Regions from separate parts of the Homo sapiens genome. Here region 2 is linked to region 1. The links are contacts of gene promoters, found by promoter capture Hi-C in blood cells and fetal thymus (Javierre and others, 2016). All regions are on one chromosome and are shown on one strand. The core of a region is centred on a gene start or on the middle of the fragment in contact, and the rest is flanking DNA. Distances in the headings are between cores, read along the strand shown. Region 1 holds the start of PLOD1 (procollagen-lysine,2-oxoglutarate 5-dioxygenase 1). Region 2 has its middle 13 kb from the start of VPS13D.

The links. The method cuts DNA at HindIII sites, captures the fragments that hold promoters and counts their contacts. A CHiCAGO score of 5 or more calls a contact.
Region 2: a fragment that was not itself captured here is called in contact with the fragment with the promoter of PLOD1 in region 1 in 1 of 17 cell types (neutrophils); the score reaches 7.2 in neutrophils.

Annotation. Positions count from the first base shown.
Region 1 is chr1:11,932,619-11,936,402 of GRCh38, forward strand. PLOD1 (procollagen-lysine,2-oxoglutarate 5-dioxygenase 1) reads left to right here and starts at 2,099. Exons shown (of 19, transcript NM_000302.4): 1 at 2,099-2,237. The coding sequence starts at 2,162. RefSeq lists enhancers at 882-1,807, 1,638-1,687, 1,808-2,731 and a silencer at 1,908-2,377. The HindIII fragment of the contact is 16,832 bases long and covers 1-3,784 here.
Region 2 is chr1:12,215,393-12,219,176 of GRCh38, forward strand. No RefSeq gene overlaps it. Among named protein-coding and RNA genes, the nearest start is that of VPS13D, 13 kb to the right of the region's middle. The HindIII fragment of the contact is 5,126 bases long and covers 1-3,784 here.

The DNA.
Region 1 (3,784 bases), core at 849-3,348:
TTCTGACTCTCTTGCCCAGGCTGGAGTGCAGCGGTGTGATCATGGCTCACTGCAACCTCCACCTCCCGGGCTCAAGTGATCCTCCCCAGTCAGCCTCCTGAATAGCTGGGACTACAGGCACATGCCACCATGCCCAGCTAATTTTTGTTTTTTTAGTAAAGAAGGGGTTTCACCATGTTGCCCAGGCTGGTCTTGAATTCCTGGGCTCAAGCAATCTGGCTGTCTTGGCCTCCCAAAGTACTGGGATTACAGGCATGAACCACCGCACCCAGCTCATCTGAATGCTGTTGATTTATTAATATCTTTTCCCAGCACAGACGCATAGCCTGCTCTTTGTCGTCCATTGACATTCGTGACATTCCTTCTCTCCCACCCCTTTGCCCCCTGCAGGGAACCCCCTGCCAGCCTAGGGTTACACCTGCCACCCACTCCTCTGGAGCCTAATCAGCTGGGAGAAGGCTCCTGGGTCCCTGTCTAAGGTCTTTTTTTTCTTTTTTTTTTTTTTTGAGACAGAGTTTCGCTCTGTCGCCTAGGCTGGAGTGCAGTGGTTCAATCTTGGCTCACTGCAAACTCAGTCTCCTGGGTTCAAGTGATTCTACTGCCTCAGCCTCCTGAGTAGCTGGGATTACAGGCGCGCGCCACCACGCCTGGCTAATTTTTGTATTTTAGTAGAGACAGAGTTTCACCATGTTGGTCAAGCTGGTCTTGAACTCCTGACCTTGTGATCCGCTCGCCTCAGCCTCCCAAAGTGCTGGGATTACAGGTGTGAGCCACCGTGCCCGGCCTCTGTCTGAGGTTTCTTCCAAGGAAGGAAGGATTTTTGTTCAGAGGTGGCTGCCCCTGTCTGACATCTGGTCCAGGAGCCCTTACTCTAGAGACCGTTGAGTTGTTTGTTGGGCTTTGGGTATCTGTGAAGAGGCCCTAAAAACTTTCATCGATTCGTTTACTCATTTAACAATTAATCTCTCTAGGGTGTGGTGGCTCAGCCTGTAATCCCAGCACTTTGGGAGGCCAAGGCGGGTGGATCATCTGAGGGTGGGAGTTCAAGACCAGCCTGACCAACATGGAGAAACCCCACCTCTACTAAAAATACAAAATTAGCTGGGCATGGTGGCACATGCCTGTAATCCCAGCTACTCGGGAGGCTGAGGCAGGAGAATTGCTTGAACCCGGGAGGCGGAGGTTGCCGTGACCCCAGATCTCGCCGTTGCACTCCAGCCTGGGCAACAAGAGTGAAACTCTGTCTCAAAAAAAAGGTAGAAAAATTAGCCAGGGATGGTGGCTCAGGCCTGTGATCCCACCTACTTGGGAGGCTGAGATGGGAGGATCGCTTGAGCCCGGGAGGTCGAGGCTGCAGCAAGCGGTGATCACGCCACTGCACTCCAGCCTGGGCAACTGAAAGCAACCTTGTCTCAAAAAAATGAAAAAAAAAAAACAAAAAACAAAAAAACCTCAGAAGCAAGACTTTCCTTGGCTCAGAGGTTTGCCTCCCAGGGACACAAAGGGAGATCAAGTGATTGCCTTTTGGGGAGAGTGGAGACGGGCTTCCTGCATTTCCAGTGCCTGGGTGGGCCACGTAGGGGTGTCCGTGTCTCTGAACGCATCCGTGCCCACCCTCACCCCTTGGGTTTTGGGAAGGACTAATGAAATCATGAAAACTGACTTCCTTGGGGCTTGACCTGGGGCTGCTCTAAGTGCGCTACAGGTAACGCCATTAACCCGTGCAAGACCCAATGAACAGACGCTATCATAAGCCCCACTTTTCAGGCGAGCAAACAGGGGCTCGTGGCTATCGATGCCATGGAGCCTTGGCCCAGAACCTGGGGTCTAGAAATCGTGGCCTCTCTCTCCTCTCACCGCCCTCTTTCTGGTCGGAGTGAACCCCCCAGAGAAGGGAGGGAGACGGCAGGGCCTGACGGAAGCCCCGGGAGCTGCACAGAGAGGCGGAGGGAGCTGCCCTAATAAGGAGAGGCCCGGACTTGGGCATATCTGCAGAAAAACCCTTCCCCACTAGGCAGGCGCGGGGGAGGGCGTGGAGGGGCGGGGTGGTGCCGCCCCCGGGGCGGGCCCAGTGCGTGGCAGCGGGACCTGCGGCCCCGTCGCGAAGTTTCCAGCCCTGCGAGCGCCGCCGGGTCGGCCGATCGTCCCCCATACCTCGGCCATGCGGCCCCTGCTGCTACTGGCCCTGCTGGGCTGGCTGCTGCTGGCCGAAGCGAAGGGCGACGCCAAGCCGGAGGGTGAGGGAGCGAAGGCCGGGGGCGGGAGCGCGGATCCGGGCGGGAGGGCTGGTGTCGGGCTGCCTCCCTGGGAACGACCTGAATGGGAGGCCTGGGCTGGAGAGGGAGTCTGGGTTCCGGCTCCTTGTCCACTTAATCGCTGGTGACTTGAACAAATCACTTCCCCTCTTGGGGCTGCGGTTCCTGCTTCGGGAAGGAAAGGGTGACAGCTGAGTCCCATTCAGCACAGAAAGGCTCAAATAATAATAGTTTTCATAATAATAACCGACAATGGCTATTCTGCCCAGTGCTCACTATGGGCCAGGCATCAGTTAGGCATGATTGCTACCCTGGTAAGTGTTTCCTTCTATTATCCCCGTTTTCCAGCTGGGCAAACTGAGGCTCCAGAGTTCATTCACTTGCCCAAGATCATACAACTTGTGGGCCTTGGAACCAGGATTTACCCCACCCACCCAGGTGTCTGGTTCCAGAGCCAGGAGGCCTCATGACCATGGGAATGAGGGGTCTTGAGGGGGACAGGGGAGGAATGGGGGTAGAAGGTGTGGCTCACTTTGTGGATAAGTTTGTGCTTTCATCCATGTCCCCTGTGGTCTGCTTAGCCCCTGCCAGGGTGGTCTTCCTCTCTGCAGTTTATTTTTTTTATTTTACTTAATGTATTATTTATTTAGTTATTTATTTATTTTTGAGACAGAGTCTTGCTCTGTCGCCCAGGCTGGAACGCAGTATGCGATCTCGGCTTACTGCAACCTCTGCCTCCCAGGTAAAAGCAATTCTTTTTTTTTTTTTTGAGATGGAGTCTCGCTCTGTCGCCCAGGCTGGAATGCAGTGGCACAATCTCAGCTCACTGCAACCTCCACCTCCCAGGTTCAAGTGTTTCTCCTGCCTCGGCCTCCCAAGTAGCTGGGATTACAGGCACGTGCCACCATGCCTAGCTAATTTTTGTATTTTTAGTTGAGATGGGGTTTCACCATGCTGGCCAGGCTGGTCTTGAACTTCTGACCTCTTGATCCGCTGGCCTCAGCCTCCCAAAATGTTTGGATTACAGGCGTGAGCCATCGCGCCCGGCCGGTTCAAGCGACTCCTGTACCTCAGCCTCCCAGGTAGGTGGGATCACAGACATGTGCCACCATGCCCAGCTAATTTTTGTATTTTTGGTGGAGATGGGGTTTCACCATGTTGGCCAGGCTGGTCTTGAACTCTTGACCTCAGGTGATCAGCCCACCTTGGTCTCCCAAAGTGTTGGGATTACAGGCGTGAGCCACCACACCTGGCCCTCTCTGCAGTTTATACTTGAGGAAACTGAGGCCCAGACAGGTGAAGTGACTGTCCAGGGTGGTCCAGACAGAGGTGGTTGGTCCGAGGTCAGCTGGGCTCCAGTCTAGCGCTCTTTCTACTTCCTCAAGGCAGATTGGATTGCAGTGTGTGCCCCACTGTCCTGAGTGGGTGCTTCCCTCCTCCCCAGCCCTCCCTGGCATGGGCCATCTCCAGGGCTGTCCCGAGAAGGGCATAGACTGCGGACAGTCCCAGCAAAGCCAAGCAGAAGTGGC
Region 2 (3,784 bases), core at 772-3,271, 280 kb after region 1:
TGCCTCCTGCACACACATTCCTGGACCCCTTTCCCTGAGGCTCCCAGCAGGGTTTGGCCATGGGAGAGCAGTAGCAGTGATACAGAATGGCCAGGCTCCTGGCTAAGCCCCACCCTTAAGCCTGGAACTGCTGCCCTAAGTGAAGACAGCTGACCCTATTTTTCTGCCCAAATGCTGCCTTTTTGGCCTGCCATGCCACTATTCTGTGCCCATAAAAAGACTTCAGCTGGCAGAGTGACACAAACGGCTGACTGGAGGAGATAACAAGCATCTGAGCAGAGAAGCAACTGAGCGTCAGAGACTACGGATAGACGTGATTAACTTCAGATGGCGTGGCTTCAGGGAAAGATCACCTTCCTGCATCATCCCCTTTTCAGCTCCCCTTCTGCTGAGAGCCCCTTTCACTGCTCAATAAAGTCTTCTGCATTCATCATCTTTCAATCCATCTGTGTGACCTGATTCTTCCTGGATGCCAGACAAGAATCTGCATGCTGAGAAGGCAGGGACTTGGATGCTGCTGTGGGGCCTGTACAGAGCCTGCTCCTACCAGAAAGGAGCGACTGGCCAGTTCCGGCATTCATTCCCTCTGGTCCTCGCACTCACTTGCTTACATGCTTTCTTTCACGAGGAGTGGCCAGCGGCAGGCTGAATGAAATGAGCCACTCCAATTCCTGCCTATGAAGGGGGCTAAGGGAACGATCCCAACTCATCAGGAGACTGGAGGATGGGAAGAAAGTGAGGCCAGGTGTGTATTCCCTACTCCCCTTCCCCTTCTGGTAGATTCTCCCTGCCACCACCACTGTGGCCCCATAGCTTCCCGCTAGTGCCTCTCCTTGTGGGTTCTTCTAATGCTTGCCTCTCCTTGGCAAAAGCGTTTTCCTTCAACTTGCCTGTGCCCTGTGTTTCCTGCACAGAGGCCATTGCAGCCCCAGCAGCTCTGGTGTTCACTCATGGTGTCATTGCTGTGGATGTTCACGTTTACTGAACATCCACTCTGCAGAGGCTGGGGCTGCACTGAGCTTGAGTCCCCATCTATATATACAATGGGGATAGTAACAGCACCAACCTGGTTGGGATGTCAATGTATGAAACATGAGCTGAGCCAGTGTGTGGATCATGGAAACTGGAATAAACCCCCTTTGAGAGCAGGGAATTGACTTGGTGCTGGGGGAGGAGGGCAGCTTTGGCTCCTTCCTCTCATAGGCATTGGACATCGGCTGGTGCTGAGCCCGAGGGACCAGATCCAGCGCTGCTGTTTCCCAGAGCTCACCACCTATCTGGAGACAGAGGAGGCACCAGATGATTCTGTTTGAGGGGGTCCATTTGGAGCAACCAGGGGCAGCCACCTGCCTGATACAGCAACCAGTCAGCATGGGCCAGGCTTGCAGCTTCTCTTGCCCATTTCTTTAATCAGGACAGAACATGTGGTTTGGCGGAGCTAGGACCAGCCTGGGTAGAGAAGGAATGTCTTTTTGAGTTCTCTTTATTGTTCTCATTCATTCATTATCATTATAGATGAACAAGCACAGAACCCAAAATTGTGGGTCCAGCCTGGCGCGGTGGCTCAAGCCTGTAATCCCAGCACTGTGGGAGGCTGAGGTGGGAGAATTGCTTGAGCCCAGGAAGTTGAGGCTGCAATAAACCGTGATCAAGTCGAGGCTGCAGTGAACCGTGATCGAGTCACTGTACTCCAGCCTGGGTGGCAGAGTGAGACCCTGTCTTTTTTTTTTTTTTTTTGAGACGGAGTCTTGCTCTGTCACCCAGGCTGGAGTGCAGTGGCCTGATCTCAGCTCACTGCAAGCTCCGCCTCCCAGGTTCACGCCATTCTCCTGCCTCAGCCTCCCAAATAGCTGGGACCACAGGCGCACGCCACCACGCCCGGTTAACTTTTTTGTATTTTTAGTAGAGATGGGGTTTCACCGTGTTAGCCAGGATGGTCTCGATCTCCTGACCTCGTGATCCGCCCACCTCGGCCTCCCAAAGTGCTGGGATTACAGGCATGAGCCACCACGCCCAGCCCCGAGACACTGTCTTAAAGAAGAAAAGTTGTAGGTCCTGGAAGCCTACCTGCCCAGGTGTGAATCCTGGATGCAACACTTCCTGTTGCTGTGACCTCAATCAAGTGAATGAATATCTCTGATGTCTCTGTGCCTTACTCGCCTTATCTGTAAGATGGGATTAAAATCGTACCTCCCTCAGATTGTGGGATTACATCAGTTACTGTCTGAAATGCTTAGAACTGTGCCTGGCACATTGTCAGGGCTCCATACATGTTAATTGCTTTTTTTTTTTAATGTATAGGTGCTGAGAATGCTGCAGATAACAGCACAGGCAAGGTCCCTGTCCACCTGGAGCTGACACACTAGCAGGGACTATGTAAAGACAGACATGTAGGCTATGCCTGTAGTGGTAAGTGCTAAGAAAAATAAAGCAAAGTGAAGGGACAGATAGGGTTGCTGCCAGTTTGCAAGGTGGGTTGAGGAAGGCTTCTCTGAGGTGCTGGAGTTTAAGCAGACACCTTGGTGAGGGGAGGACAGGACAGCCATGGGACTATGGGGGGTGGGATGGGATATGGGGTTGGGAGAGTGGTGTGAAGCCATGGAAAGGACTTTGGCTTTTTTTTTTTTTTTTTTTTTTAGACAGAGTCTTGCTCTGTCTCCTAGGCTGGAGTACAGTGGTGTGATCTTGGCTCACTGCAACCCGGGTTCAAGTGATTCTCCTGCCTCAGGCTCCCAGGCAGCTGGGATTACAGTTGTCTGCCATCATACCTGGCTAATTTTTGTATTTTTAATAGAGACAGGGTTTTGCCATGTTGGCCAGGCCAGTCTTGAACTCCTGACTTCAGGTGATCCGCCTGCCTCAGCCTCCCAAAGTGCTGGGATTACAGGTGGGAGCCACCATGCTGGGCCGTTAGGTTTTATCTTCAGTGTCATGGGAGGGGCCTGAGCTGGGGAGTGTGGGAAGTTCCATAGCATTGTCTGAGCTAATGCTGAGAAAGCAGACTGGGTATGGTGGCTCACACCTGTAATCCCAGCACTTTGGGAGGCCCAAGGTGGGAGGATGGCTTGAGGCCAGGAGCTTAATACCATCCTGGGCAACATAGGGAGACCTCGTCTCTACCAAAAAATTAGCTAGATTGCTTGAGCTGTGATGGTGCCACTGCACTCCAGCCTGGGTGACAGAGCGAGACCCTGTCCCCAAAAAACCCCAAAATACCACAGTTGAGAAAGTGAGGTTGCATCATTTCAACTCGGTAACTGTCCTGCGAGATAGGCAAGGTACTCATTATCCCTGCTTTGCAGAGGAGGACATAGGGCTGGCAGGGCTGGGTTTGACACTTATCTTAGGATTGTGTTGGACAGGCTGTTTACTGTGGGAAGTTCCTGATAAGCAGCTCCTTAGAATTTCACAAGAAAGTCAAGGAAACCTGGATTTAAAGGGGTAGACATCTTTCTGGGGAAACTAGCAGCACCCTGAAAGCTAGGAGGTTGGGCTGAGCAGCTGCTTTGGGTGAATCTAAAGGCTGGGAATCCTAAGAGTGACTGTGCCTTGGTTCCACCACTATTTTGCCATGTGAACTTTGAGCAGCCTCTGTCCCCCTCTGGAGCTCAGAATCACCATCTGTGAGATGAGGGGGCTGGCCTCTGAGCTGTGGTCTATTTGCCTTTTCTCTCTCTTTCTCTTTTTTTTTTTTTTTTTTTGAGACAGAGTCTCACTCTGTCACCCAGGCTGGAGTGCAGTGGTGCAATCTCAGTTCACTGCAACCTCCACCTCCCGGGTTCAA